Regions from separate parts of the Homo sapiens genome. Here all the other regions are linked to region 1. Evidence: promoter capture Hi-C in 16 types of primary human blood cells and fetal thymus (Javierre and others, 2016). All regions are on one chromosome and are shown on one strand. The core of a region is centred on a gene start or on the middle of the fragment in contact, and the rest is flanking DNA. Distances in the headings are between cores, read along the strand shown. Region 1 holds the start of FEM1C (fem-1 homolog C). Region 2 has its middle 1.9 kb from the start of DTWD2. Region 3 overlaps DMXL1-DT (DMXL1 divergent transcript). Region 4 has its middle 81 kb from the start of TNFAIP8. Region 5 overlaps SLC25A46 (solute carrier family 25 member 46). Region 6 overlaps EPB41L4A (erythrocyte membrane protein band 4.1 like 4A).

What was found. Contacts are between HindIII fragments. The CHiCAGO score rates a contact against its expected background, and 5 or more counts as called.
Region 2: a fragment that was not itself captured here is called in contact with the fragment with the promoter of FEM1C in region 1 in 6 of 17 cell types (non-activated CD4 T cells, naive CD4 T cells, fetal thymus and 3 more); the score reaches 9.7 in non-activated CD4 T cells.
Region 3: a fragment that was not itself captured here is called in contact with the fragment with the promoter of FEM1C in region 1 in 1 of 17 cell types (M0 macrophages); the score reaches 7.5 in M0 macrophages.
Region 4: a contact is called between a fragment that was not itself captured here and the fragment with the promoter of FEM1C in region 1, in 2 of 17 cell types (fetal thymus and monocytes). The highest score is 12.5, in fetal thymus.
Region 5: a fragment that was not itself captured here is called in contact with the fragment with the promoter of FEM1C in region 1 in 4 of 17 cell types (activated CD4 T cells, total CD4 T cells, fetal thymus and 1 more); the score reaches 9.7 in activated CD4 T cells.
Region 6: a fragment that was not itself captured here is called in contact with the fragment with the promoter of FEM1C in region 1 in 3 of 17 cell types (non-activated CD4 T cells, total CD4 T cells and naive CD4 T cells); the score reaches 7.7 in non-activated CD4 T cells.

Annotation. Positions count from the first base shown.
Region 1 is chr5:115,542,689-115,546,213 of GRCh38, reverse strand. FEM1C (fem-1 homolog C) reads left to right here and starts at 1,439. Exons shown (of 3, transcript NM_020177.3): 1 at 1,439-1,691; 2 at 2,531-3,264. The coding sequence starts at 2,721. RefSeq lists silencers at 1,149-1,488, 1,589-1,638, 1,689-1,858 and enhancers at 1,288-1,582, 1,124-1,890. The HindIII fragment of the contact is 1,787 bases long and covers 465-2,251 here.
Region 2 is chr5:118,988,761-118,992,076 of GRCh38, reverse strand. No RefSeq gene overlaps it. Among named protein-coding and RNA genes, the nearest start is that of DTWD2, 1.9 kb to the right of the region's middle. The HindIII fragment of the contact is 1,187 bases long and covers 1,473-2,659 here.
Region 3 is chr5:119,056,846-119,060,166 of GRCh38, reverse strand. All of the region lies in intron 1 of DMXL1-DT (DMXL1 divergent transcript), which reads left to right. Among named protein-coding and RNA genes, the nearest start is that of DMXL1-DT, 12 kb to the left of the region's middle. The HindIII fragment of the contact is 2,432 bases long and covers 35-2,466 here.
Region 4 is chr5:119,273,000-119,276,696 of GRCh38, reverse strand. It overlaps a transcript of TNFAIP8 not described here. Among named protein-coding and RNA genes, the nearest start is that of TNFAIP8, 81 kb to the left of the region's middle. RefSeq lists enhancers at 1,866-1,915, 2,338-2,837, 2,912-2,961, 3,082-3,171. The HindIII fragment of the contact is 1,298 bases long and covers 1,799-3,096 here.
Region 5 is chr5:110,740,088-110,743,639 of GRCh38, reverse strand. SLC25A46 (solute carrier family 25 member 46) reads right to left here. Exons shown (of 8, transcript NM_138773.4): 2 at 1,551-1,593. Among named protein-coding and RNA genes, the nearest start is that of SLC25A46, 2.9 kb to the right of the region's middle. RefSeq lists enhancers at 2,295-2,794, 2,795-3,296. The HindIII fragment of the contact is 709 bases long and covers 1,924-2,632 here.
Region 6 is chr5:112,162,944-112,166,589 of GRCh38, reverse strand. EPB41L4A (erythrocyte membrane protein band 4.1 like 4A) reads left to right here. Exons shown (of 23, transcript NM_022140.5): 23 at 1,472-3,646. The coding sequence ends at 1,600. Among named protein-coding and RNA genes, the nearest start is that of SNORA13, 3.3 kb to the right of the region's middle. RefSeq lists enhancers at 1-448, 449-1,126. The HindIII fragment of the contact is 836 bases long and covers 1,577-2,412 here.

The DNA of each region.
Region 1 (3,525 bases), core at 190-2,689:
AAAAACATAAGAAACGTTTAGAGTATAGAAAGGAAAAGCAAAATATATAGTTGTATGAAAATTATTTCAATTATGCAAAACTACATAAACTTCTGAACAACACTACAATATACAAAAATGAAGTTGTGATTTTTTATAAATGTTTTTAGTGCTGCATGACTTCTAACATAACGTTATGGATTACATATGCTGAGGGTCAGACTGCCTACTGTAATATTCTATTTCTCCTAGTGGTACTAAGGAATTATGTGAGCTTAAGTTCCCTCAAACAAAGTGATTGAAGGTCCATTTTCAAAAATTCTGTTTTCTCATCAGGATTCATTATGGGCGTTATTTCCCAAACACATTTAAACTTTTTCATCCTAGTTTAATGCAACGTAGGTTTTAGCATCAAATTCCAGAGGTTTATCAACTACTATATGAAGAAGTAATTCTTTTCATTCATATATATAACCTTTTAAGCTTTAGTTCCCGATTTATTACTCAGAGCTCAAGAACCTGACCTCATTGACTTTACATTGCTCTTAGGGTTTACCATTCCTCGTAGCCTTTATGCTTTTTAGAGGCTACTTTAGAAAGAGAGTCAGTTTGACAGCCTCCAAAACTAATCACATTTTCTGAAATTTCAGTTTCCTCCGTGTGTGTTCTGAGGTGTAATTACGAGCTTGGTAATTTCCAGGGCCCACCAAAGTAAGGACGGAAGACTAGTCCGAGAGACTTCACGTGTGTGAGGGTAATACTGGTCCGCACCCAAATTTGAATTTTAGCTCCCATGATTCCCACATATTGTGGGAGGGACCTAGTGGGAGATAATTGAATCAAGAAGGCTGTTTCCCCCATGCTGCTCTGGTGGTAGTGAGTACGTCTCAGGAGAGCTGATTGTTTTATATGGGGTTTCCCTTTTTCCTTGGCTCTGATTTTCCTCTCTTGCCTGCTGCCATGTAAGACGTGCCTTTCCCCTTCTGGCTTGATTGTGAGGCCTCCCCAGCCACGTGGAACTCTGAGTGCATTAAATCTTTTTATCTTTATAAATTACCCAATCTCGGGTATGTCTTTATCAGCAGCGTGAAAACGCACTAATACACTTCCCTTCTGGGGTCTCTGAGATGGGACCGAAAGATTCCCTAAGGGAGCACCCCGAAAATCCGAGAGGAGAAGAGCCAGCGAGATCTCAGAACTCGAGCTGCCTCGGGCCGCTTCGATGGGCACAGATCCGCCCCCTCGCAGCGCCCCGCCCCCCAGCGCGTTGCACGCAGGCACGTCCTCCCAGTAGTTCAGGCCCCGCCCCCTCCCCGTCGCCCCACCCCGGCCGCGACGCCCCGCCCCGCGCCTAGGCTGTTGCTGGCCGCGGCCGCCGCCCTCCCCCGGCCCAATGGCGTGGCGGCACAGTCAGTGATGTGACGCTCAGGCTTGTCCGGCCCCCGGCTCGCAGCCCATTACACCATCCGTCGCAGCAGTCGCTGCAGCCGCTGCAGTCCGAGCCGACTAAGGGCGGGAGGCAGCTCGGGTGGCGGGGCGTGGCGAACAGCGCGGCCGGATTCATTCCTTTGGGGCGCGGAGCATGGAGGAGCTGTGCGGCCGCAGGCGGAGCAGGGCGGCCCGGGCGGCGGTGGGGACAACGGTTTCCCTTTGAAGGGGACGGACAAAGCCCGAGTGACCAGCGGCGGCGGGGAGGACTAGTCCCCGGGCAGGTAGTGGCGGCGGCAGCGGCCTGCCAGGGCTCGGGCCGGGGCCTGAGGTGCCCGCGGAAGGCCTGGGCGGGAAGGAGGGCGCCGGGGGAGCCGAAGGCGGGCAGCGGGCTGGAGGCCACAGCTTGGCCCATCGGGAGGGGGTTGTGGTCGATGGAGGAGATTGGGAGGGGGCTGCCGTTGTCTGGAACAGGGAGAGGGGAAGGTTGTGTTGGGGCGACTGTGGTTTGAGGAACCTGCGGATCATCCCTTGGCGGGGGGTGGGGGGTGATCGAAATGGGGCGGGCGAAGTTAATGACTAAAAGGCAGGCGGATTTCCTGAGAGCCGTGAGTAGTTTTAAAGGAAAGAGAATCTTTCGGGGCACAGTTTTGGCCTTAGCCGGGGTTTGGTGTGTCCGACCTTTTTGTTCTTTCTCGAAACCCGGCCTCAGGCCTTCCAGCCTGGCGCCCTTGGCCAGCTCTCCTGCAGTTGCAAGAAAGAGAAACATTTCTGAACCCGAGTCTCCTGCCTCTTTCGGTTGTACTCTCCCTGGGCGTGTGCAAAGCAAAACTAGAACAAAGCTTGGCTGGTTAGAGCTGGAGGCGAGAAAACGGGCTGCCTGTAGTGTTTAAATTTTCCGCACATGGAGGAGACTGCCTGCGACCAGAACATTTGGGTCTCTGTGTATCCTTCTGTATTTTTCTTTACCACCTTTTCTTTGGGGGTGGGGGGGGTGTGTGGGATGGAGTAGTGCCTGAAGTATAGCTTTTATTCCTTTCTTCCCACAGAAGTGGAAATTAAGAAGTGTTTTGCCTTCTTCTATAGAAAATTAAATGCTGCTACTTTTTTTTTCTTTCTCTAGTTTGGTGCCCTGGTTGTCAGATGTTGGAAAGCAGTAGGACGGAACATACTCTTCGTGGTTGTGTATCCGTTCTGGGGTGCAGCAATTAACATTGGACTTTGGTTCCTGTGACTCTTGCCTGTGTCGATAGAGTTAAACTGGAGCTCTGCTTTGAAAGATAAATAAAGCACAGCCTCTCAACTGGACATAAATGGATCTAAAGACAGCAGTATTTAACGCAGCTCGGGATGGCAAACTCCGGCTTCTCACCAAATTGTTGGCAAGCAAATCCAAAGAGGAGGTTTCCTCCTTGATCTCTGAAAAAACAAATGGGGCCACGCCACTCTTGATGGCCGCCAGGTATGGGCACCTTGACATGGTGGAATTCCTCCTAGAGCAATGCAGTGCCTCCATAGAAGTTGGGGGCTCCGTCAATTTTGATGGCGAAACCATTGAGGGGGCTCCCCCTTTATGGGCCGCTTCTGCAGCAGGACATCTGAAGGTGGTCCAGTCCTTGTTAAATCATGGAGCATCTGTCAACAACACGACTTTAACCAATTCAACTCCTCTTCGAGCTGCGTGTTTCGATGGCCATTTGGAAATAGTGAAGTACCTTGTAGAACACAAAGCTGATTTGGAAGTGTCAAACCGACATGGGCATACGTGCTTGATGATTTCATGTTACAAAGGACATAAAGAGATTGCTCAGTATTTACTTGAAAAGGGGGCAGATGTTAATAGAAAAAGTGTCAAAGGTGAGTTCAGCTTCTTTGTTTTTCTAAATGTCTACCACTTATTTTCAGGAAGTTTGATACATCATTATAAGCACTGGTGTTGAGTAAACCAGCATTGACAGACCTGTTTTGATTAGGTAAGTCTTCCAGTATGACTTTGTTGAGTGTTTCTATGATGTTTGGTAATAGATTGAAAAAGTGTGATAAAAGACTTCTGTTACTCTGTTAAGCAGTATTTTCTCTCTTATTTGGAGTAACTTAAAATTCTTGGGAAATGGGTTC
Region 2 (3,316 bases), core at 817-3,316, 3.4 Mb before region 1:
GGGGAGGGATAGCATTAGGAGATAGACCTAATGTAAATGACGAGTTGATGGGTGCAGCACACCAACATGGCACATGTATACATATGTAACAAACCTGCATGTCGTGCACATGTACCCTAGAACTTAAAGTATAATAATAATTAAAAAAAAAAAAAGTATCCTTGATGAAGTAGCCTAAGCTGCTGCTCTGCCTGTGGAGTAGCCATTTGTTATTCTTTTGCTTGCCTAATAAACTTGGTTTTCACTTAAAAGAAAAATAAGTGGCCAGGCGCGGTGGCTCAGTCCTGTAATCCCAGCACTTTGGGAGGCCGAGGCGGGTGGATCACCTGAGGTCCGGAGTTCAAGACCAGCCTGATCAACACAGTAAAACCCTGTCTCTACTAAAAATACAGAACTGGGCCGGGCGCGGTGGCTCACGCCTGTAATCCCAGCACTTTGGGAGGCCGAGGCGGGTGGATCATGAGGTCAGGAGATCGAGACCATCCTGGCTAACAAGGTGAAACCCCGTCTCTACTAAAAATACAAAAAATTAGCCGGGCGCGGTGGCGGGCGCCTGTAGTCCCAGCTACTCGGGAGGCTGAGGCAGGAGAATGGCGTGAACCCGGGAAGCGGAGCTTGCAGTGAGCCGAGATTGCGCCACTGCAGTCCGCAGTCCGACCTGGGCAACAGAGCGAGACTCCGTCTCAAAAAAAAAAAAAAAAAAAAAAAAAAAAGAACTGGCCTGACATGGTGGCACGCAGCCTGTAGTCCCAGCTACTCGGGAGGCTGAGGCAGAATTGCTTGAACCCGGGAGGCGGAGGTCGCAGTGAGCCCAGATCACGCCACTACTCTCCAGCCTGGGCGGCAGAGCGAGACTCCATCTCAAAAAAAAAAAAAAAAACAAAGGAAAAAGCCACTAAATTTGTGGTTATTAGTTCCACAGTGATAGAAAATGAATATAGCAAAAAATACCATGTTTTTATTTCATTTAAATCAAATCTTATACAATGCTGAATCCTCATACTGCAGGCCTGGCAGGATATTCAATCCCTTACATTACTGAGGCCCTTTCCTCTACCAGTAACAGGATCTCCTTTTCCCACAACACCAGGCGTGGACCTAAGATTGTCCTCAGTCTTTACTACCCAAACTCCTCTGAGGCAAAGGAGCATAAAAGTCTGGTTTTCTACCTGAAGTTGGGAGATAAACAAAACATACATTAACACCTCAATACATTATCTTGACACTAGTAAGTTGTCTGTATCCCATAAAGGATATTTTACTTCCCTTTCTGGTGTCTTGGCACTTCCCAGAAGCTGAGTCACTGATGGTCTGATACCTGGGTCTGCCCCAAGGTGGTAACCTCACCTGCATGTTTCCTCAGGCGTCTGAAGGTCATTGTTCACAAACCTGGATATTGGGTGAATTTCTTGCTTCCTATAGAGGAAAATGGCTCTCCTTTCTCAACTCTGTGTCTTGCCTGGATGGAAGCTTTCTTTGATTTTGGTCAGCCTCTGAGACAATGGACTTGTAGGGGATTTTCTTCATAAGGAGCGGAGATGGAGCAGGAGACCACTTAGGTCTTTGGCAATATTCTATGCAAGAGATGACGGGGGCTTGAACCAGGGCAGAAGTAGTAGGTGAGATAAATGTTTGGATTTTGAATACTTTGAAGGGTAAAGCCAATAATCTGATATGGGGTGTTAAAAGGAAGCCCCAAGTAAGTAGGCTCACATCAACCTAAAAGGAAGGAGCAGAGGCAAAATTAATATAGAGAGTTTATTTGGGCCAACGTTGAGGACTGTAGCCTAGGTCGTACTTCCAGGTTGCTGTGGAGAGTGCTCTGGAGAACAAAATGGGCTGGAGTTTTTAAAGAAAAGAGAACGAATCAGCAGAGGGGGGCATTACAAAAGCTATGTCTCAGGAAGTGTCATTTATTTACAGAAATAACATTGGTTAGTGATTGGCTATACATATTGTTGAACTATAGGGTATACGGCGTTTTATGGCTACTCGGTGTCAGTCTAGGGCCTGCATAGCAAGTGCCTTCAAGAGGTAATTATTTAGCTCAAGGGAGAGTGAGACATGACTGCTCGCATTCCTTAGATAAAAAGTTTTTTTTTTTTTCCTTATCATCTGTCTTCTCACACCACACAATTGGGAGTCTCAAGGGACCTTAGAGGACTTGAGCACATTTCACCTCTTGAAATTAAAGATGAGCAGCTTCCTTTCGTTTAAAGATAAGTCACATGAGAATTTAATTTTGGCAGTTAAAGAATTGGTTCCCCAACCTAAATCTACAGACAAGATGAATTTTCTGATTCATCTCCTTTCCTACAGTTTCTGGATTTTGTTTATCCTCCGATTCCAAATGGCATAATTGCTAGTTCTTTCTCCCACTCTACGTCCATCACCAGGTGGGTGTTTCAGCCTTTTTCTATCCCTCACATAGGACGCTCCAAAGGAAAAGAGAGGTGCTGTTTCCGGGGGGAAAGAACGTAGGATAGTTGAAAACAGCACGGTATTTTATTCACAAACTTGATTTTAAGATGACTGAAAAATCTAATGTGAAATAAACATTTTAAGAAATACAGTATTTGCTCTATTACTGTGTTGTCTACTTTGCCTCACATTTAATCTATTACAACTATAGAGTTAAGACAACTGTGATTCCTAAGCTTAATTCACATGATTGATCAAAACCAAGCTTAATTCTGTTTTAATGTTGTGTATTGCTGGAAGTAACACAAAGCATTAATAAACAAAAGGAATTCGATACCCATTTTGGGTAAATAGTATTTCTGCCTTCATTCTAACATAGATTTCATTTTGGCTTTTAAAAAACAGCTGCTGTGCTATATACCGCCGTATCCAGTAGTTGTTAAATACCTGGGCAACGTTACCTTTCTAGGGCTTGTTTCCTCATACATAAAACCTATTGGTACCCCGGGCCAGCTCTCCTATTGCTTCCTGATCGGGGACGATCTAAAAATCTAATTTAACAAATATCTGGTGTCCAGTGTAAAATAGCATGCTTGATGTCTTATTAGCACAAGACATAGAAGAGCAGGAAATTCACATAAGGAAACGGACCAGCTGTGAGTAGTTCCCAGTGGATATAACCTCTCCTTTGTTGGCCTTTAAATAATAAGTGCATCAGCTGCCGCACCTGCGATGCATGCACGCGTGGAAATCCTGCAAATTCTTAAACTGCCATCCCAAGGCGGAAAATGCAGAATTCCATTTTATTTTAACTTTTAAAGGAGTTAAATTCGGGCTTGGTACTGGGGTCCTCTCGGGGAGGTTTCCCTTACCTCTCCCAATGACGCTACTTAAC
Region 3 (3,321 bases), core at 1-2,500, 3.5 Mb before region 1:
TCTCTGACCTTGATTGCTACCTTTAAAAGAAGCTTTAAAGCCTGTTTGGTCTCCTAAACTTGCCAAGCCCTGCTGCCTGGGTCTAGTCAGTAATCTTGCCCTGCACAGACCTCTTACTGTCTGACCACAGGCCTTAGCTAACCCCATTTGTGTCACACCCCACTGCTATGCCTCCTTTGGAAAGGCCTATCTAAGAAGTAGCTCCTTATATAAATGGAAGGACACTAAAGACTCCTGATGGAGTAAACACAGAGGAGATAAGGAATCAAGGGTGGAGGGATTGGTCTTGGACATGGTAAATGTAGAGATAGAGACTATCTAGTCAGAAAGGTTAAACTTGATAGTCTTCATTCTACAAAGTAGGATGCAAATTCTTTTCAAAGAGGAACTGTGAATTGTATAGTATGTGAATTATCTTTCAATAAAGCTATTTTTAAACAGCAGAGAATGTAAGAGATGGACTAGAATTAGGAAAGTATTGGGTTTAAAAGTCACATTCATATTACGATGGCAATTCCTGGTTATGGATCTCTTTAATGATGTTTCTATACAGAGTGAATGTAGTAGTCTGTATGTTTCTCTCTTCCTTTTTAATTGAAATATTAGATTGCTCCAAAGGTTTCCATACAACCTGTTCAACTTTCTAGCAGTCATTCCAGAAAGGGAACAAATGAAGTGTAACCATATATTTACTAATCAACAAATGCAAACATGATGGCTATATTAAATATTCAAATGCATAAATAATATTTATATTATATGTGTTAGGCTGTACATAACAGACTAGGCAACTAGCAGTGGCTTAAATAAAAAATATTTATTATTAAATATATATTATTATAATATGTTATTATTAAATATATATTTTATAAATATTTATTATTAGGTTGTAGCATGTGCCTATATTCCCAGCTATGTATGCCAGAGGAGGCTGAGGCAGGAGGATCCCTTGAGCCCAGGACAGGAGTTTGTGACCAGCCTGGGCAACATAGCAAGACCCCATCTCTGAAAAATAAAAATAAAAATAAAGACATACAATTGAGTCATACAATAAAGATAGTTCCAGAATTGTTCAGCAGCAAAGTGTAGGCTTACCCCTGATGGGCACACATTGGCTATAGAAGCACCAAATGTTTTGTTCTCACCACACAACATACAGAAAAGCAGGAAGGTGGGGAAGGAAAAAGGCATGCTTCTCACTTTCTACTTTTCTTTTATCAGGAAGAAAAATCTTTCTAGGAAGTTACCAAGCAAACTTCCTATTATACATCAATGGCCAGAAGTGGGCCACATTGCAAACCCCTAGTTTCAAGGGTGGATGGCGAAGTGAAAAATTAGGTTTTTTAGCCTTAGAAAAAGAAGTGCATGAAAGGAGGGGCTGGAAATGGCTGTTGGATAGGCAACCAAACTGTCTGCTGTATTATTCATTGGGAAAAAGGATAATAAAACCAAGAAATATTTGCTTGAGGAACGTCAGATATGAACAGATTTCATTTAAACTCACAAAGCTGAGAAGCTGAGAACAAAGATTTGAGATGTGAGTAGCACACTTGAATAGCAAGCAAAACTTCAAAAACCAAAACATGAACCTGGTTATGAAAATAAATCTGATTAAGGTAGCTCTGTGTTTTAGATTCTACTGAGTTTGGGAGGACTGCAGATTTTTTGTAGTAGTGGCTAACTCTTCCTGGAATTCTCCCAGATGCGCAGGAGGCCAAGAGCCTGGGTATCTGCATCTGAAACAAATTAGCCTGGGATGTTTCTTTTTTTTTTTTTTTTTTGAGACGGAGTCTCGCCCTGTCACCCAGGCTGGAGTGTAGTGGTGCGATCTCGGCTCGCTGCAACGTCCGCCTCCCTGGTTCAAGCAATTCTCCTGCCTCAACCTCCCGAGTAGCTGAGATTACAGGCATGTGCCACCAGGCCTGGCTAATTTTGTATTTTTAGTAGAGACAGGGTTTCTCCATGTTGGTCAGGCTGGTCTCGAACTCCCGACCTCAGGTGATCTGCCCGCCTCGGCCTCCCAAAGTGCTGGGATTACAGTCGTGAGCCACCGTAGCCAGCCTCATTCCCCGTCTTAATCTGCCTTTTGTCAGTTTAATTGAAAGGCCCTAAAACTATGCTATCGGGGATAATTTCTATAGATCATTACCTAATTTATATAGATCATTAATATGCTATCAGGGATAATTTCTATAGATCATTTCTGTAAATCATTAATATAGAAATGATCATTTCTATAGGTCATTACTAGAGATCATTACTATAGATCATTACTAATTGAAAGGCCCTAAAACTATGCTACCAGGGATAATTTCTATAGATGATTACTAATTTCTATAGATCATTACTAATTTCTATAGATCATTGCTATGCTATCAGGGATAATTTCTATAGATCATTACTAATTTCTATAGATCATTGCTATGCTATCAGGGATAATTTCTATAGATCATTACTAGAGAAGCTTCTCTGTATGTGTGGAGCAAAAGTAAAAACAAAAACAAAAAAAAGAAAGGTCCCCATTGATGTACCTAAGAGGGTAGAGGAAAAGTTTTTATCCTCCTCAACAAGCCTGTCATTTTTCACAAGTAGTACTATTGGCATTTGGTGGGACAGTTCACTGTGTGGGACTAGTCCATAACCAGTAGTATACACACATTCCACTTCCCCACTGTCCCCCATCTTACAATATGTCACCAAAATTGCTCCACACATATCCTAAGTAAGATTGCCAGATAAAATACAGGAATCCCAGTCAAATTTGAATTTCAGATTATTTCAGAATAATTTTTTTTTTGAGACAGAGTCTTGCTCTATCGCCCAGGATGGAGTGTAGGGGTGAGATCTTAGCTCACTGCAACCTCCGCCTCCCAGGTTCAAACAATTCTCCTGCCTTAGCATCCTGAGTATCTGGGACTAGAGGTGCATGCCACCACACCAAGCTAATTTTCATATTTTCAGTAGAGACAAGGTTTTGCCATGTTGGCCAGGCCAGTCTCGAAACTCCTGATCTTAGGTGATCGGCCCACCTTGGCTTCCAAAGTGCTGGGATTACAAGACATGAGCCACCATGCCCCGCCCAGAATAATTTTTTTAATAAGTTTTAAATATTGCATGGGATATACTTCTTACTAAAAATTATTTGTTGTTTGTCTGAAATTCAAATTTTTTTTTTTTTGAGACAGAGTCTCCCTCTGTCACCCAGGCTGGAGGGCACTGGAGCGATCACCGCTCACTGCAACCTCTGCCTCCCAAGTTCAAGCAATTCTCCTGCCTCAGCCTCCCGAGTAGCTGGGACTCCAGGTGTGCGCCACCACAGTG
Region 4 (3,697 bases), core at 1,198-3,697, 3.7 Mb before region 1:
TGAAGAGGGAGAGACACCAGGGTTGTGCACAGAGAAATGTTCTTGTGAGAATACAGCAGAAATGTGGCCATCTGAAAGGCAAGGAGGGAGGCCTCAGGGAAATCAAACCTGTTGACGTCTTGATCTTGAACTTCCAGTCTCCAGAACTGTGAGAATATAAATTTCTGTTGTTTAAGCCACCAGTCTGTGGTATTTTGTTATGGCAGCCCTTAAAAACTAATACACTTATATAGAACACTATCATCACTAAAGGCAACCATAAAAAAAACAGAACTTACAGGCCAGGTGCGGTGGCTCAAGCCTGTAATCCCAACACTTTGGGAGGCCAAGGCAGGTGGATCACTTGAGGTCAGGAGTTCGAGACCAGCCTGGCCAACATGGTGAAACCCTGTCTCTACTAAAAATACAAAAATTAGCCAGATGTGGTGGTGTTTGCCTGTAATCCCAGCTACTCGGGAGGCTGAGGTAGGAGCTTCGCTTGAACCCGGGAGTTAGAGGTTGCAGTGAGCCAAGTTTGCACCACTGCACTTCAGCCTGGGAGACAGAGCAAGACTCCAACTCAAAAAAAAGAAAAAAAAAAAAACAGAACTTAACGAAAGACTGATTAAAGCGTAAAATTCAGTGTGGATATGCTTGTTGGGCTTGGGTGGTTAATCCTCTGCCCCTGCCACCTGTCTCCGCAAGTCACTGCCCAACCTCCTCTATCTGCCTCATTTCCCTAATGGTAAGGCTGAAAGGCCCTGGTGTGCTCAACTCCAGGGCAGCAAACCTGGGGGATGGCTGACTACAGAGGAAGGCAGAGGCCAGACCTGAATTAGTCAGTTTCATAACCTGTTATTCTCTGTTCAAATATTTAAATCTAGAGGGGAAAAAAAAAGCTGTCAATCTACTAAAATTAATACTATGTTATGATCAGTAGCAAACCTTTATTATTCTAATTTCCATGGCCCCTATTAGAATGATAAATTAAAAACTGACTAAAATTCAGAAAAAGGGAAGTCTCAAGTACTGGCAAAACCCAAAATGCAAAAGAAGCAGGAGGAAGTTACAGAACATGGCTTCAAAGAAAAAAATGGTCTGTTTTTCATTTTCTCATTTTCTACCATTACAAAATGAGAGGGACACTCTGAGAACAGAATAGATTCCTGGAGGTACCAGGACCTCAGGACAGGAAACAGGCCTGGGTTAGGGGAAACGGTCCGCTTGGCAACTCCGAGTCCTGAGTTGGGCCCGTGCTCTTCCAAACATGCGCCGCTGTTGAAATAAGGATGCCCATCCCAGTTCAGTATCTACAAACCACCTGAGTTATCCTTAAGTCAGCTGGCATACTGGATTTATGATGTCAGCATTGTTGGTGACTCAAGTCTAGATTTTCAACTAATGAACACTGGGCAGACTCTCCAATGTCTCTGTTTCATGGCCTTCAATTTCTGGATCTATTTGTGGGACACCACTAATTGTTTTGGTTGTTATTTTTTGTTCTTGACCTGGTTGCTTGTTAATATTTTTCCACCCAGTGAAGACCTATAAAAACAACTTTGTTATTTCTTAAGATGGGTACATAGGTGTTCATTTTATATGTTGTGTTTATTTTATATGTTGTGTTCATTTTAATCTTCTTTAAACTTTAAAGCCACTCTGTACTTTCAAGAGCTCTTTCCACTGCCAAAAAAAAAAAAAAAATTAAAAAAAAATCCCTACAGCTAGCTGCTGCCTGAATAAGCTTCTTTCTAGAACAAGACAGGAAAATGAGTCACATAAGTCTCCCAGGCTAGGGGTTCTCAATTTGCATCAAGCTTCACTGGTGATTCTGACTTAACAGTCAGGTTCACAGGAATAGTCCCAGATGAGCCCTAAAATACAGCACATTGGATAAGTTCAAAGTTTCATTTGGTGTATCACTTTTGTAGCTGCCCAGATAATGATGTTCTCAAACTACCCTACCTGGGCAGAGCTTCCCTGCCAGGGAGGTGATAAGCACCACAGGTACACAGGGCAGGGAATCCTTGCTTCCTCAGGAGGCTCCCTATTTACACAGGGTCTCTTACCTTGAAAAGTAATAGCAGCCTGTTCCTTCAGGCACTATCAGTCATTCCAGGTCATAAAAGCAAAGGAGCAAAGTGGCTACGTGTGTGCAAACAGAGGTCATCACCGGATGTTGGGAAGGCCTGAGTTCACTCACCTCTTCCAGGTATACCTCATGAGTCACTAGCAGCCTAATTCTGCCTCAAGGCAAAAGGAATTCCATCACTAAGTGAGGACTGCTCTGCCCTTCAAGTGTAGCAAAACAGTATTTAACCAAACACCTGCCATTTTCCAGAAAACAATCTCAACCCTTTAAAGAGTGAAGAAGGAAAAATAAAAGAGTAGTTTCCTGACCACAGAATGATGGAATGAGGTACTGGACTTACTTCCCAAAGATTTACGTGACCAAAGTTTGTTCTGAAACTTGCACTGTTGCCAACACTGTCCATGCATTTTTTTCTCAGAAGACTGGCATTTTTTTTCGTGTCTGCATGTGTGTGAGGGTCTGAACACAGTCAGAAGAGAGCTCAGGACAGGAAAGACGAGTGTAGTTAGGTCTACATAGCACACACCACAATCTCTGTCTCCCCTATTTTTGTTGACAGCCATGTTGTAAAACCAAACAAACAAACAAACAAAAAACCTCATTTTGTTAAACAAATGATAAATAAGAGTAATAAATAAGAGTTAGGAATGAGGAAGGCTTGAGCTAAATGAATTTGGGTTGAAGGAGTAAGAGCCAGGCTTAGAGAGGGTATTGACAGAGTGAGCTGTTGCTTACTTTTTGGCTCCTTTAAAATATCCAAGAGTCTACTGTGTGCCTTGCTGAGTACTGTGTTCCCAAAAGACCTTGCCCCGGTGCCTAATCCTGCAGATGCGGTCCCTGCCCTGGGCCTCCCGGACCTCACGCAACTTCCCCTGAAGACATGCCAGCCCGATTCCCTTTGCAACACCAAGGGCAGCTGTCTGTCTTAAATAATCTGGTTTCATTCACTACCTGTTTTAAACATGGGAGTTGTGAAAGGCCAACCCACTGCTCACAATTTAACTGTAATAGGTCTTTTGAAAGCTTCCCTCATGCAGAGAAGCTTAATGGGTACTATGGCTCGTCTTCGTTCTCAGGCACATAAAACTCGAATGCCCTGCTCTGGCTCACTTATCTTTGGCAGCAGCGGTGACATTTCCCTTATATAATCATGTGACCCTGCAGCTAGCAATCACTGAAGTTGTGCTACATTCACCCCATTCTCTGGGCTCCTCTGGCATTGTTAAAGGAAAAAAGAATTCATGCTAAAATCACATATGACACAAGTTACTACTTTCCCTCTCTACTCCACTGTGGCTCAGTACTAACACTTACTGGAATGAGACCTATTTGGCCAATCTAACTAAGTCCTCCACTTAATGGGTGCCTTCTGCACACTGATACAGGAGAGGAACATCTGGCTTAATCTGCACAACAATCCTATAATATAAATACTATCCCCAGTTTTTACTCTGGTGAAGAAACAGGCTCAGAGAGCTAAGTAGATTGTCCAAAGCCACACAGCCAGCAGGGGCTGAGACATGAGCTGCTGATTCCAGCAAAGTCATTTGGACCAACTACTTCTTGACTAAAGTCATCTTTATTCCCAATGTTTAAGGAAACTACAAGTGGAATTTTGAACTTAAT
Region 5 (3,552 bases), core at 1,029-3,528, 4.8 Mb after region 1:
GAATCATGCATTATTTTATGTTTTCCATTCTTAAACAAATTAAATAGATCTTTAAAAATGTCTAGAAATGTTTGCAAATGATTCTACCCATAACGAAATTCAATATGAAAAGAATGAAAACCAGATCTGCATACTAGTAAATAAGGGAAACAATACATAATACATAATATTAATGTCTATAGTATAAGATGAAACTAGATCTCTGAATGTTTAATGTGGGAAATGGCACATCAATTAAATGGCATTTAATGCTGCAAATTATTTCTTTCAGAAAATGTCCTAATAACAGAATTCCTATCAGCAGAGTCATTTGATCTTCATGAACCCCATTCTAAAAATGTTTGGTTTTGGTGCACTTAAATTATAAGGTTTAAGTATAAATTTAAGTATAAATCTTAAATTATAAGATTCTTAATGACCATGTTAATTGACTAATATTTATGTATCAAATATTTATTTTGAGAATGTGCCCCACAAAACAATTACAGCTGTGGGTTTCAGGTCTCAGAGTGACATATACATACATGTGCACACATATTTATATGTAATAATAGTCTATCAAATGAATCAAAGCTTTAAGTATAAATATTGAAGCAAAAAACAACTCCAGCAGAATGGAAAACACAGATTTTATTTATATTGACATTAACACCCTCGGGTTTAATTATGCAAATAAGGTGTTTTTCTTCGTTAAAATGTTTAAAATAATGATCATTATGGCATGAAATGTAAGCTTTGTGCAATTCCAATATTTTTGAAAATGGTATTCACTAAGGATCACAATAATCAAGACTAAAGGATTTTCTTAAAATGATCGTTAGATATAAAAAAAAGTAATGCTATCACCAAACGCTGATTATGAACAAAATCTAGATGCTATGTTGCTAAATATCTTGTAAGCATTAGAGTGTTTAGAAAGAAGCCTCCATGCACAATTACTTTTTTGATGGGAGACAGACAGATTACATTTCATTTTATTCTTTGGATAGACCCATGAAAAGAATGAAAACCAGATCTGCAAACAGGTAAGTAAGGGAAACAATATATAATACACAATATTAATATCTACGGTATAAAATGAAACTAGATCACTGTATGTTTGATGTGGGAAATGACACGTCAGTTACATGGCATCATTAAATGCCATGTAATTTTTCTTTCAGAAAATGTCCTATGAAAAAAGTTCTTATCAGCAGAGCCATTTGATCTTCATGAACCCCATTCTAAATTATTATTTTGATGGGAGAGAGATAAGATTACACTTCATTTTATTTTTTGGATAGACCCATGAAAACAGTTACAATACTCATTACAAAATTACTTTGTGTTTATAAAATTGGATGACTAGTCTATCCTTACTGGAAAAACTATCAAATTATATATTTTAAATAATGGTCATTTTTTTTCTGCAAAATATTATTCAAAATTTAAGCTGCTGCTTCAAAGAAACAACCTAAAGGAAGCAATAATAATCATTTAATATTGTAAATTAAAGAAAAACTCTAAATTCAATAAATAAAAGCTGTAAACGTCTTTAGATAAAACATTACCTTGCAAGTCCAATACCAAATCCAGCAAATCTATTCAGCTGTTCTAAAGTAAAAAAAAATAGAAATAAAAAAATAAGATTACTGATAACCAATTACTGACAATTTAGGTTTAGTCTCAAAACAATTTTAAAAAATTTATTTTATTAACCTGCTGTTCATTTAAACCTCAAAGTCAAATTCTGATAGGGGCCAGGTAAATAATTTAAATGAATGAAGGACTCTGCTGGGGTCTGTGGCAAATTGCAAGGTGTAGAGTGTTTAAAGCACAATTACGCTTTCACTCCAATTCATTGTTGCCACATTAGAGTGTGGGCCCAGGGTTTTGAAGTTGTAATTTTTTCAAAAAAAGATATTCTCATTTTATATAAAAGCTTCCAATTTTAAAGTCCTGGACAACTATTTCAAAAACTGTTAACACATTGTCTTGGCCTAATGAAACAAATATCCGGACAGAACCTAAGGGCTACCAGTTTTCAGCTTCTGATTCCAATCAAATAAAAAATTTTCCATGGTTGGCCGCAGCTGATATTCCACCTGCGACTTTACCTCTTATGCTGTAAAACTAGTTATTCACTGTTACTGACGGAGAGCACTTTATTAAACCAATAACTACAAGTAAAGCACCTCTAAATTATTAACTTGAAAGGGTACTTAGGGATAACCAAAATGGGTAAATACAGCTCTCCCCCATCTCTTCAAGTTTTAAATAGTTTGAGGCTAGCTGTTTAATTAATTGGAGTAGGTTACTGGATACCTAAATGCTACTACAGATGGTATGTCTGTTATGTTACTGGAAAAGTTCACAGCTGGGAACATTCCTATGCATATGTCAAAAGAGAAAAGCCTTTCTTCTTGACTAAACTCAAAGTCATAGTGGTGAACTATTACAACCCCAGGGGACCAGACATCAAATTCTAACTATAATACAATATTCACAAGTTACAATTCTTTCTCTCCTCTTCTCTTTCAAGTGAAGCAACTGCCCTCACTATTCCCTTTCAATCAGAACAAGGCCACCTAAGCATGTTCCTGGGAAATTACGCAGTTTACCCTAGAAAAATGTATAAGCTAAATAGAAAGCTTCTTTTACCCACCTACGGTACTTTTACCTTAGATTTTACCTTTTTTTGTTTGTTTTGAGACGGAGTCTCGCTCTGTCGCCCAGGCTGGAGTGCAGTGACGCGATCTCGGCTCACTGCAAGCTCCGCCTCCCGGGTTCACGCCATTCTCCTGCCTCAGCCTCCCGAGTAGCTGGGACTACAGGCATCCGCCACCACGCCCGGCTAATTTTTTCTATTTTTTAGTGGAGACGGGGTTTCATCGTGTTAGCCAGGATGGTCTCGATCTCCTGACCTCGTGATCCGCCCGCCTTGGCCTCCCAAAGTGCTAGGATTACAGGCGTGAGCCACCACGCCCGGCCTTACCCATTTTGTATGTATAGATCATCCCCAAATAGCAACAGAAAATGCTACTAGCATTTTCTGGAAGGTGTTAGGAAGGTTTAATCTTGTTTACTGTGTAAGTCTCTTAGGTGTCTATCTTTGTTGCAAAATTAACATTCACCCACCTGTTAAGGCTGCAAAATAAACCCCTGCTTGTGTCAAGGAACTCCTCCTCATTGTAACCACCAAAGCATAACTTTAAACCGGGAAGAGTCAAAAAGCTAATTGTATGACAATTAGCTAGGTAAGTCATCTATCTTTCTTCACATCCTCATTTACTCACTAGACATTCGTTAGTCTGTTCTTCTTAGTTAAATATTATTGTACTTCCAAGTCAAAGTCGAGGAAATAAGAATAAAGCTGATTTCTACAATAAATTTAATATTAATACCATTAATCTATTATTCTAACAATTCCAGAAGAATAGAAAGAGGTAGCCATTATTCACATTTTATGAATAAAAAAGGATGTTGAAAATATCTACATCATGCAGTGTTGCAGCTTTTCTGACATCCCATGGAGAATAATTATGTCATGATTCCGAAGTCCTATCTTGAAAT
Region 6 (3,646 bases), core at 745-3,244, 3.4 Mb after region 1:
GTCAGAGGCCATCTCAGAGAGTGGCATTTAAAGCTGAGACCTGGCAGGTGAGGAGCTAGCCATGTGAGTGGCTGCAAGGCTGATGTAATCAGAGTGAGGAATGTAGGGAAAATGCTGACTCTGGAGAGGGCCTGGGTATTTGAGGAGCTGAAAGACCAACATGCAGTGAGCTTGAGGGGAAAGGCAGATAACACAGGGACTTAAAGGCTGTGGGAAGCGTTTGGATCTTACTGTTTTATTCCAAGTGCTAAAAGGAAGCCACTCATCTGGCTGCCAAGCGGAGAAGGGGCTGGAGTGACCAGTGGAAGCTGGAAAGGTACATTTTTAAGGTACAACTTTAAGTTCTAATTTCCACCACAATGCCACCAGAGTTCTGGCAGTGACCTGCCTTACACCTCACCTTGCCTTTTCACGCAAAGGCTGCTAAGAATGGGGAAGAATAGCAACTTAATTTCTTAAGGTCTGCAGAGTGGACAGATTCAATCCTAGACAAACTTACAACATAGTACTTATTTCAGGTCCTCTCCTAGCACTTTTTTTCTGGTAATTCTTCTGCTGTATTCTCCTCTCACATTCACTGGTGTTCTCTTCCCACCTCTGGCTATCTAGAAATCTTCCATCCCAAATAGATGGGTTCATGCTTCCCATGATAGGCAGAATAATTATTCCATCAGTGCTTTTTGAATGTCAGTAAAACAAATTAAGCCAGTCATAGGAACAGATTAAAGGTAGCTGCATTTTAAGAGGGATTTATTTATTTTTAGCTCAAACAAATCTCAAAATAGATTGGGACGGTATAGCCCATTATTTATGGGAATATACATTTGGGGAAGGAAATATGCTTGCCAGCCTGATACACTGACAATGTTAGACCATCCTTGGAAGTAAGAGGAGGAGGGGTTCGCATAAGAAGTAGTAGTTGTGAGTTAGTGTCATTCTCAGAGCCTCCACCAGTGATGATGGGAGATGTGTAAAACCTAAGTTTTACAAACTAGTGGATGTGGTGCCCAGGCTCTGGTAATGAGCTGCCCTGTTTCTCCGTATGAGACAAGTGATAGGGGCTCACAAGACATTGTTCCATTCATTGACTACTGAAAATATAATCAGGGGATTATAAATTGCCTCCAAGTCTCCATCACTATCCTGTTTGGAAGAGTGAGGTTGAGAGCCTGGTTTGGGAATTGTTAACAAAAGTAATGACACTGATTTGGGTGAATTATGCCTAATATTCATGAATAAAATCGTTATGCATGTAAATGTCAGACTAACTTTGTATATTAAAGTTTAAATACAAACTTTATTTTGCACAGCTATTTAGAGGGAACATTTATTGAATAGCTTTTGGTATTATGAAACTTTTGAATTAACTCAGTATCTTAAATTTAAGAGCAGCTTGGTTTCTGATGTAATTAAAATACTTCATTTGGCTGTTTTCTTCTGAATCTTTCTACATTTTTCAAATATATTTTAGAGAAGAAATGGGTCTAAAGATAGCCTGATGGAAGAAAAACCTCAGACATCTACAAACAACCTGGCTGGAAAACACACAGCAAAAACAATAAAAACTATACAAGCTTCCCGCCTCAAGACAGAGACTTGATCCTGATGAAGGGTCAAGGGTAGGGGTGGGAAGGTTGTGTGCGCCACTGGTACTTTTGAAACTGTGAAATAGGTATCTTAATTCAAATCTCAGACCTGCAAGTATTTCTTCAGCATGAGAAAATACATTATCTTTTGCTTCTTTTTTTTTTTTTTTTTGAGATGTTATCACTCTGTCGCCCAGGCTGGAGTGCAGCGGCACCGTGTCAGCTCACCGCAGCCTCCACTTACTGGGTTAAGCGATTCTCCTGTCTCAGGCTCCCGAGCAGCTGGGATTACAGGCGTGCACCACAACACCCGGCTAATTCTTTTTGTATTTTTAGTAGAGACAGGGCTTTGCCATGTTGGAGGCTGGTCTCGAACTCCTGACCTCAAGTGATCCGCCTGCCTCAGCCTCCCAAAGTGCTGGGATTATAGGCCATGGTTTAACTACAGCACAGTTGTGCTGAAGGACCTTTTTGTTTTAACTGGAAGAATAAGTATTTTGTAAAAATTCACTTGATACCACATTTTCATTTCTGGAACAGGATAGCAATCATTCATTTCTATCTTGTGTCTGTGTCCACCACAACCAAGACCAGATGCATCTGATGAACATTCTGGAATTCTGAACTGCAGCTAGCCTGCTGTGCAATAGTACAAGTGGGAGGACGTCTTCCCAGGGCTGGGCTGGTTCTCAACTAGTGCCCAGATGCAAAAGGACTGAGGCATCACTTTCAGACTGCATATATTTTTATTCATATAAAGTTCTTTATAATACTTTATTTTGTGGTGTTAAGTTCCACCAGTTATTTACAAATGATGTAAAAAGCTTTAAGTGTTGTTAATTTCTAAAGTGTTCTTGCGTTTTCAGAAGTGTAAGTGGATCTCAGTTGATCTGTCACCCCAAACCTCAAATGATCCATCCACCCTGCTTGGCCATCTAATTCACCTGCTCTCCCCAGTGACTATTTTGTACCTTTCCTCTCCATAGATGACTTTGCAATCTACAGGGAAAATACTTATGCAGGACATCTTATATCTCCCCCTTACCACGTACAGTTCTCTCCACAGCTGCCAGCAGCCCTAACCTTTTTGTCTCTCCACCTGTGCTTTGGATGCTCTTCTCCCAGCCTTTTCAGGATCTTTGTCTGTCCTCCTATATTAATGTATTCAATTATTCTCTCAGCTAGATCCTTGCTACTTGGTTTTAAATTTAAGACTAAGATTAAACAAAACTATCTTTCACAACCACAAACCCCCTCCCGCCAAGCAACTAAGATTTTCCTCTCATTCTCAGCCAGTTTTCTTGCAAGCAGTATCTTTAGTCATTGCCCTCAATTCATCTAATCCCTATCTTAAGCTATCTCTAACATGGATCTTTCCCTCTACTCCACTAATATCAATCACTGTGTTACTTAATCCCAGGGAGAATTTTTAGGACATTCTTTTGCTTCTTTAATATAATCCTATTTTGCTCCTACCACTGACCATCCTTTCTGGCTTATCATGCTTTACCTTGCCATTAATTAGTGGAGTTTCTCAAACTTCAGACCCTAGGCCCTCTTCCTCTACCACCAGCAGATCTCATTTATACCCATGGCCTTAAGGTTTATTTCTGTAGTTTAGACTACTGAGTAATGTGCTACTGCAAAAAGACCATTTGGGTTTCTCAAAGGTAATTTAAAAATTCAGCTGTTTAAATGCTGCTCCCCAGCTGAATCTAGGGTCATTATGCTCATCAGTGTGCAAGCTGGACACCTAGCAGTTATGGACACCTCCACTATTACCACGTCTAGTTGGCTCTGTCATCCAACTATAAACGATCTTATTTCACTAATTTTACTAGTCCAAGCTGGTCTCTTGTCTAGACAACAATAAGCAACCTAGTTCAACTACCTTTTCTTGCAAATCTGATTTTCCACCATGGATTTATCTTGCTTTAATAAAGCCAGAGGGAGCCTGAAGTGGTCTGGCTTCTTTACCTACCTCTTCAGCCTCATTTTGTAACACTCTCACCTCCCATAATAGCCATCTTACAAGCCTCAGTAAGGACTCAGTTCTAAAA